Linked DNA regions of Homo sapiens: region 2 is linked to region 1. The links are contacts of gene promoters, found by promoter capture Hi-C in human tissues and cell types (Jung and others, 2019). All regions are on one chromosome and are shown on one strand. Each heading gives the region's core, a stretch centred on a gene start or on the middle of the fragment in contact. The rest is flanking DNA. Distances are from core to core; before and after follow the strand shown.

Region 1 (3,455 bases), core at 956-3,455:
AGCCACCGCGCCCAGTCAATGCCTGCATTTTTAAGGTGAAATATTATACAGTTAAGTGTTAAACAAGTGAAGAATCTCAACAAAATACATATTACCTTTAAGGCTCTAAATGACCAGAGAGAAAGAACTGTGACCATTACCATTAAAACGTTCACGTCCTGGCCTATACATTTCTTTTACCGTTGCCTTCAATTTCCATATATTTTGGTTCTTCAAGTTAGCTGGACGTTCTATGAGGTCAGGGAGCAAGTGTATATCCCTAAACTGCTGAGCCTCAACACTCACAGGATGCCTACCAACAGCATCCAACTCTTTTAAGAGACTTAAACACCCAGGTTACTGTCCAAATGAGCTCCCACAGCAAAGAATGATCCGACCTCGAATGTCAATATGCCAAACTTGAGAATGCTGCTCTAGACCACTGGCTTTGACTCTGACAGCGGTGGCCCTGACCATGGTAATGCTCTTTAGTAGCAACTGCTCTTCAGAACAATTTCTCAACTGCTCTGGGCCCAAGTCCCCAGTTTTGTAAAATAACCCTGTCTCAGAGTGTGCGACTTCTGGGCACAAATGCATGCAGTTTGAACAAAATGGCTGATGCAAAACAACCTAGTTTTAGTTATGTTGTTACACCAGGTGTGTGTATTGGATGTTATTTTCTCTGCAGGTCCCTGTTAAGTGGAAAATAAAATGGAATACATAATACAATTAGCTTGAAACTTTTTCTTTCTAGAAAGGAAACAAATACTGAGTGCCTACCGTGGATCAACCACTGTGCAGCCCCTCTAAGTCACTCCATTTAATATCACTGTCAAGTCTTCAGCTTGACGGAGGCCTATCACCTCCCCCTGGAAAAGGAGGTTCCGCGAGGTTGTGTAACTAGCACTAAGTCAAACAAAGAGTCCATAGGGGAACTGTATTGTTTCTAACTTTGCGTAAGTAAACCTCCAAGACACTAAGTGAACAGGGACACCTGAGAGACCTAGTGGAATGGTCTATTATGAATTCACTTTATAACAAACCCTGAAGGCCCTCTCGGAGTGTCCCTTCCTCTGCATTTTCTGTCAACGTCTGGTGCTCAGATGTTTCTTACCTGCACCCCTGCCCTGGTTTCTTTAACCCCTCTGGTCTTCCTTATTCCCTTCGGTCTATCTCAAGCTTTGCTGCCTGAAGTGCAGCTCTACTGAAATTCTGCTCAAAACCCCCTCAATGGCTCCCCTTCTTCCCCAAAGATAACGTCGTATTTTCCATGTTGGGCATTCAATAGCTTCCACCTTCGGGAACTATTGTAAGTTAAAGAAGTCAGTGCTCCATTAAAACCGGATGGCTCTTCCATTCTACAACGTGCCATGCGCATTCTTGCCCAAGCCTTTACTTCTACCGTTTCCTCTCCCTAGAATGCTACCTCTCACCCCGATCTAAAGCTGTCCTCCAGCACCACGCTTATGTGCACCCTCTCCGTAGCTGTCCTTCTCACTGCACACCACCTTGTATTACGGTTATGTGCGTCCGTTTTTCACTCTTCGCTATTTTTCCTCAAGGGTGGGCAAAAAAGCACTCAGAAATGAAATACCCTGTTAAGTGACCACACCTTTACGAGTGACAAAGAAAACGGAAGGGCCGTTGCGGGTGGACCAGCGAAAGGTTAAGCAGCAGCGCCTTAACCGACAGGTGACAGAGCATCTCCCCGGCGCCCTCCCACTGGAGCGCAGTCCCACGCGGCCGTCAGGCTGGAGGAGCCGGGCGGGGAGGCGGTCCCGCTTTGCTCCCGCGGGCGACCGGACTGAGCGGCCCCACCCAGCTCCGAAGGGCGCTGGCGGCCCAGCCTGGCTGGCCCCCACATTCCGAGCCCAGGATTAGGCGCCGGCGTCTCCCGAGCTCAGTAAGCGGGCTGAGCGGCCGGAGACCGCAGGGAGACGGAGATTCTCGACCTTTCCGGGGAGCACATGGCAGAGCCGCTCCTCAACTCGCGCAGGCGCAGAGCCACGGCCTCGGCCACCTCCCCTTAGCCCACCGCGAGCAGGTCCCTGTGCCATTACCTTGAGGGCCTCAAGTCCCATAAGACGGGACTTGCGGTCCTGATCCTTGATGATGAGGAAAGGGCGCCCATATTCATCGAAGGCGAGGGTCCCCATGGACGCCATGGTGCAACAACCGGAATTACTTCCCCCCAACCGGCGGAGACCGCTACGGAAGCGAGAATGCACTTCCCTTTCTCGGGAGGGCCCAAAAGCTTGCGCACGCGCAGCACAAGACGCGCGGGACTTATGTTTCTACTGAGACTAATTTCACGCCAGACAGTATCTTCTGGAATCGGCGGCCTTCGGGAACTTCTATTATCCAGGAAGCCGGGGAGGGGGAGGTTTGAAGACACTTAGTGGAAATCTTAGGACACACAAGTCAAGAGCAGATTGAATTTGTCATTTTTTAAAACGTTACCACTGATAGTTTCTCGATAGTGGGTCCCAAGGAGGAATTCATTGACTTAAAGCACTATTTCTTTATTTCTTCGCACTCCGGCTCCGAGAAGATGGTAGGACCCATTTCCGGTTTTTTTTTTTTTTTTTTTTTTTTTTTTTTTTTTTTTAAAAACGCTGTTGGAAATCTCGCGATGGAGGGAGGAGGAGGTGAGGCTGGAGCGGCTTGGCGGGTTCCTGGGGGCATGAGAAGGGGTGCGGGCGGGCCGGGGGCTCGCGGTCAGCTGAGGTCTCCACTGTCGAGGCGGTGACCGGGTGCGGGCGGCTGCTCTGGCCTCCAGCCTGGCCTTCGGTGACCAGAGCTCCTGGTCGCCGCGCGGTGCCCGCGCCGGTTCTGGCGATCCTTGTCGGCGGGCGCGTTTCCCCAGAGACTGTTCTAGGCTACTTAGTGCAAGTGACTCAGCCTTTGGCACGATCTTAAGGAATAGGGATAGTGGAGGCACACTGATGGATTGGAATCGCAGTTCTGCCGCTCTTCCTAGCTGTGGCTTTGAGGAAATCCCTTAACTTCTTTGTCCCTCGGGTTCCCTGTCTGCAAAGTGACGGTGGTAACAGTAGTGCCTACTCACAGGGCTGCTGTGAGATTCAAGGAGAACGGTGCCTGGCAAGCTGAACACAGTGTTGGTAAATAAATTAACATTTTGCACAAATGGTTCAGTAACTTGCCACTGGTATACAGCTAGTAAGAAACAGTTACACAGCCTGATGCAATGGGTCCCACACTCTTTTTTTTTTTTTTTTTTTTTGAGACAAGACTGTAGCCCGGGCTGGAGTGCAGTGGCGCGGTCTCGGCTCACTGCAGCCTCCGCCTCCCGGGTTCCAGTGATTCTCGTGCCTCAGCCTCCCAGGCAGCTGGGACTACAGGCACAGAACCACCACGCTCGCTAATTTTTGTATTTTTAGTAGAGACGGTGTTAACGCCGTAGTGGCCAGGCTGGTCTCGAACGGCTGACCTCAAGTGATGTACCCGTCTAGGTC
Region 2 (3,523 bases), core at 52-2,551, 1.3 Mb before region 1:
CAGAATCTTGCTCTGTTGCCCAGGCTGGAGTGCATTGGTGTGATCTTGGCTTATTGGAACCTCTGCCTCCCAGGTTCAAGCAATTCTCTTGTCTCAGCCTCCCAAGTAGCTGGGATTACAGGCATGCACCACCACACTGGGCTGATTTTTCTATTTTTAGTAGAGATGGGGTTTCACTATGTTGGTCAAACTGGTCTCGAACTCCTGACTTCAAGTGGTCCACCTGCCTCAGGCTCCCAAAGTGCTGGGATTACAGGCGTGAGCCACTATGCCTGGCCTAATCTTCATATAAAAAATTTGCACACATGTTGGTACAATTGTTCACCTATAACACACAATATACTTAATATATCTGTGGAAAATAGTTGATACATATAATACAAAATTTTTTTTGTTGTTTTGTTTTTTTAGTTTTAGTGTACTTCACATACTGCTTAGAATTTAGGTGTCAGCAAATGTTTTTCCCATACTTGACAAAACAGTGTGTCCACACACTTGCTGTATTAGCATAGGTATGTAATTCTGTAAGCAGGTAAATACTTCAGTGATTGCCTCCAACACTGACAGTGTCAGCTGAGGAAAACTCTAGATGGTAGATGGAGGAATGGAAATTTAAGTCACATATTTTAATCATAGACAATTTAAATTCAGATCCATATTTATAGTTTTGCTTTAGAATTGGATAAAGACCATTTGTGGTCTCAATATTTGGGACTTGCTAAAAGTAGGTACCTTGATGCATTTTGGAGGCACTTCTTAACTCGGATTCCTGAGTGTAACCCAAGTATTAACTCTATGGCCATAGAATGCCGACAGAAGAGCAGAAGAAACTTCCACTTTTATGGTTCCTGGGCATGCAATAAGACTCTCAAGAAATTAGATAGCCAAATCAGTGTGCCATTTCTCATCACCAGAATAGCAAGCTTCCTGGTCTGAGAACCCCAAGGGAAAGTCTAAACTCCATTTTCGCAATCACTTTTCTATTTTCCTGACTTTTCACTGAATTGTACTCACGGGTATAAATCTAACCTTTGATCTACGTGGACCTCATGAATAAGTACAAGTTCTACTTGTTTGGGATTTTAAGAACTAGCAAAAGCAAACAAACAAGCAAAAAAACCCAAATCCTTTGCCAGTCATGGATGTCATGTTTGAGAAGAAATGCTATATATGGCAAGAACTATTGCGGGCAACTTCAAAATTTCATACACAAAAGGAGTTACTTTTTCAAAACTCCAAAAATGGTCATTAAATATGTGTAAATGTATTTATAACTACAGAAAAGTTCTAGAAGACACAAGCTTCCAAAAACATCTATTAGAAATGAAATACCTGTTCAAGATGAAGTTTACTAGAATAGTTAACTTTCCTCCTTTAACCCTTATTATTAATTTTTTTTAGTTTTCCAGGAAATATTGCTATGTTATCATGAACTGCCTAAGTAGATTGTCCCATACATTTTTGATGTTGCTCTAGATGTGTTATGATTTGGATCTGTGTCCCCACTCATATCTCATGTGGAATTGTAATTTCCAAGTGTTGAAGGTGGGGCTTAGTAGGAGATGACTGGATCATGGGGGTGGTTTCAAATGCCTTAGCACCATCTCCCTGGTGCTGTCTTGTGATAGAGTTCTCTTGACATCTGATGAGATCTGATGGTTTAAAAGTGTGTGGCAGTTCCCTGCTTGCTCACTCTCTTTCTCCTGCTGCCATGTAAGGCATGCCTTGCTTCCCCTTCGCCTTCTGACGTAATTGTGAGTTTCCTGAGGCTCCCCAGCCATGCATATCTGTGAGTCCATTAATCATCTTTTTTTTAATAGATTACCCAGTCTCAGGTAGTTCTTGATAGCAGCGTGAGAATGCACTAATACAAGATGCTTACTTCCTTTTCATGTTTTCTGACCCAGCTGTTAATGAGTTTCACTATAATAAATATTAAAGTTTTATACTTACAGTTGTTTGTGAAATCTTTTGGTTAAGTCTCATATTTTTCATCAGTTTTCATGGAGAAGATATATTTTCCCAGCTCTTCATCTTCAATTCGTATATTAAGACTATAAGAAATAGACACTTCCTCCTTTCCCTCAACTTGTAAACCCTCTCATAGGAGGCTTAATGAAAAGAAAGGTGATAGGTGTTTCCTCTTATTTAAGGAGGCACAACACTATACCATTTAAATGTAATCAGATAAAGGATTTTAAAATGTGTATACAATATCAACCTTGATTACCTTTAGAATGGTTGACAAAACCATGGTGGTAAAGAATCGCTTAGTGGGATTACTGGGTAGGAGACCCCCCTGGAGTCCTGGCACACCTAGAAACTTACCTGATTCTGAGGAAGCTGGAATTTCTCCTCATCAGCACGTATCCCCCTTGGTTGTGGTGTAGAGGGATGGAGAATCTGATTTATCATTATTATACAAACCCAATAAGAACATGATGTGGTGGTTGTTAGCCATGGCTCCTAGAAGACAAACTTAAAACTATAAATGATTATAGATAGGTCTGTCTAGTGGTTAAGAACACAAACATGATTTTGGACAAATTATTTAACCTCTCTGAATCTGTTTCCTCATTTATAAAATGAGATAATAATAACTTGCCTCATTGGATGTACACAGAAACAATGATAACATTTTACTTTAAGGCTAAACTGCTTTTTGGATACAACAACAACAAAAATACAGCTATTTTTATCACATGAGAATATGGAAAAGGGTAATTTCAGTGATATAGGAAATGAGTTGTCCTCATTATCCAGTGGTGAGTTGACTTCTCAATAAAATACCAGCTCTACTTATCTTCATTGTTATTATTATATTTTCAAAGACTATTCCAAGCCAGGCTTCGTGGCTCATGCCCATAGTCTCAGTACGGAGCAGACGAATCACTTGAGCCCAGGTGTTTGAGATCAGCTTGGGCAACATGGCTAAATCCTTTTCTACAAATAATACAAAAATTAGCTGGGCATGGTGGACCACACCTGTAGTCCCATCTACTTGGAAGGCTACAGTGGGAGGATCACCTGAGTCTGAGAGGTTAAGGCTGCAGTAAGCAGTGATCACACCACTGCACACAAGCCTGGGTGACTGACACTCTGTTTCAAAAAAAAAAAAGAATATTCCCTAATTCGGACTGCTCATTGATGAATTAAGAAAAGCACATTATTGGCTAAGGCAAATTGTAAGCTTAGAGCAAGAAATAGAGAACATAACATAAATCTGTAGAGCTAAATGAGCCTTAAATTTTCATCCAGTCCATCAGATATGTCAGCAGCTTTGAAATACCAAGGAATCATCTCATTCCAGATTGACTGGGTAATAAAGGGAGCAAACTCAGTATTTAAGACCTTTACAAAGCTGTAAGCAAAGCCTGTGGACACCTAAACATTGATTTCAAATAATGCAATATCAGTTCTAGAACGAACTTAAGCTGTAACATACACGGAAGGGCCCCATTTTTAAGATACCAATGTATAGGCACTGTTCGGAAATAGAGGTATATTCAACAAGTCTTACAGA

The links. The method cuts DNA at HindIII sites, captures the fragments that hold promoters and counts their contacts. A contact is called where the count stands out against the background at its distance.
Region 2: a fragment that was not itself captured here is called in contact with the fragment with the promoter of CCT5 in region 1 in 1 of the 25 tissues and cell types used here (dorsolateral prefrontal cortex).

The regions. Positions count from the first base shown.
Region 1 is chr5:10,249,030-10,252,484 of GRCh38, reverse strand. It overlaps CCT5 (chaperonin containing TCP1 subunit 5), which reads right to left and starts at 2,205. Exons shown (of 11, transcript NM_012073.5): 1 at 2,040-2,205. The coding sequence starts at 2,144. ATPSCKMT (ATP synthase c subunit lysine N-methyltransferase) reads left to right here and starts at 2,597. Exons shown (of 5, transcript NM_199133.4): 1 at 2,597-2,627. The coding sequence starts at 2,612. RefSeq lists silencers at 1,055-1,277, 1,608-1,747, 1,818-1,887, 2,638-2,697, 2,708-2,827. The HindIII fragment of the contact is 7,315 bases long and covers 1,697-3,455 here.
Region 2 is chr5:11,597,179-11,600,701 of GRCh38, reverse strand. All of the region lies in intron 2 of CTNND2 (catenin delta 2), which reads left to right. Among named protein-coding and RNA genes, the nearest start is that of CTNND2, 310 kb to the left of the region's middle. The HindIII fragment of the contact is 5,530 bases long and covers 1-3,523 here.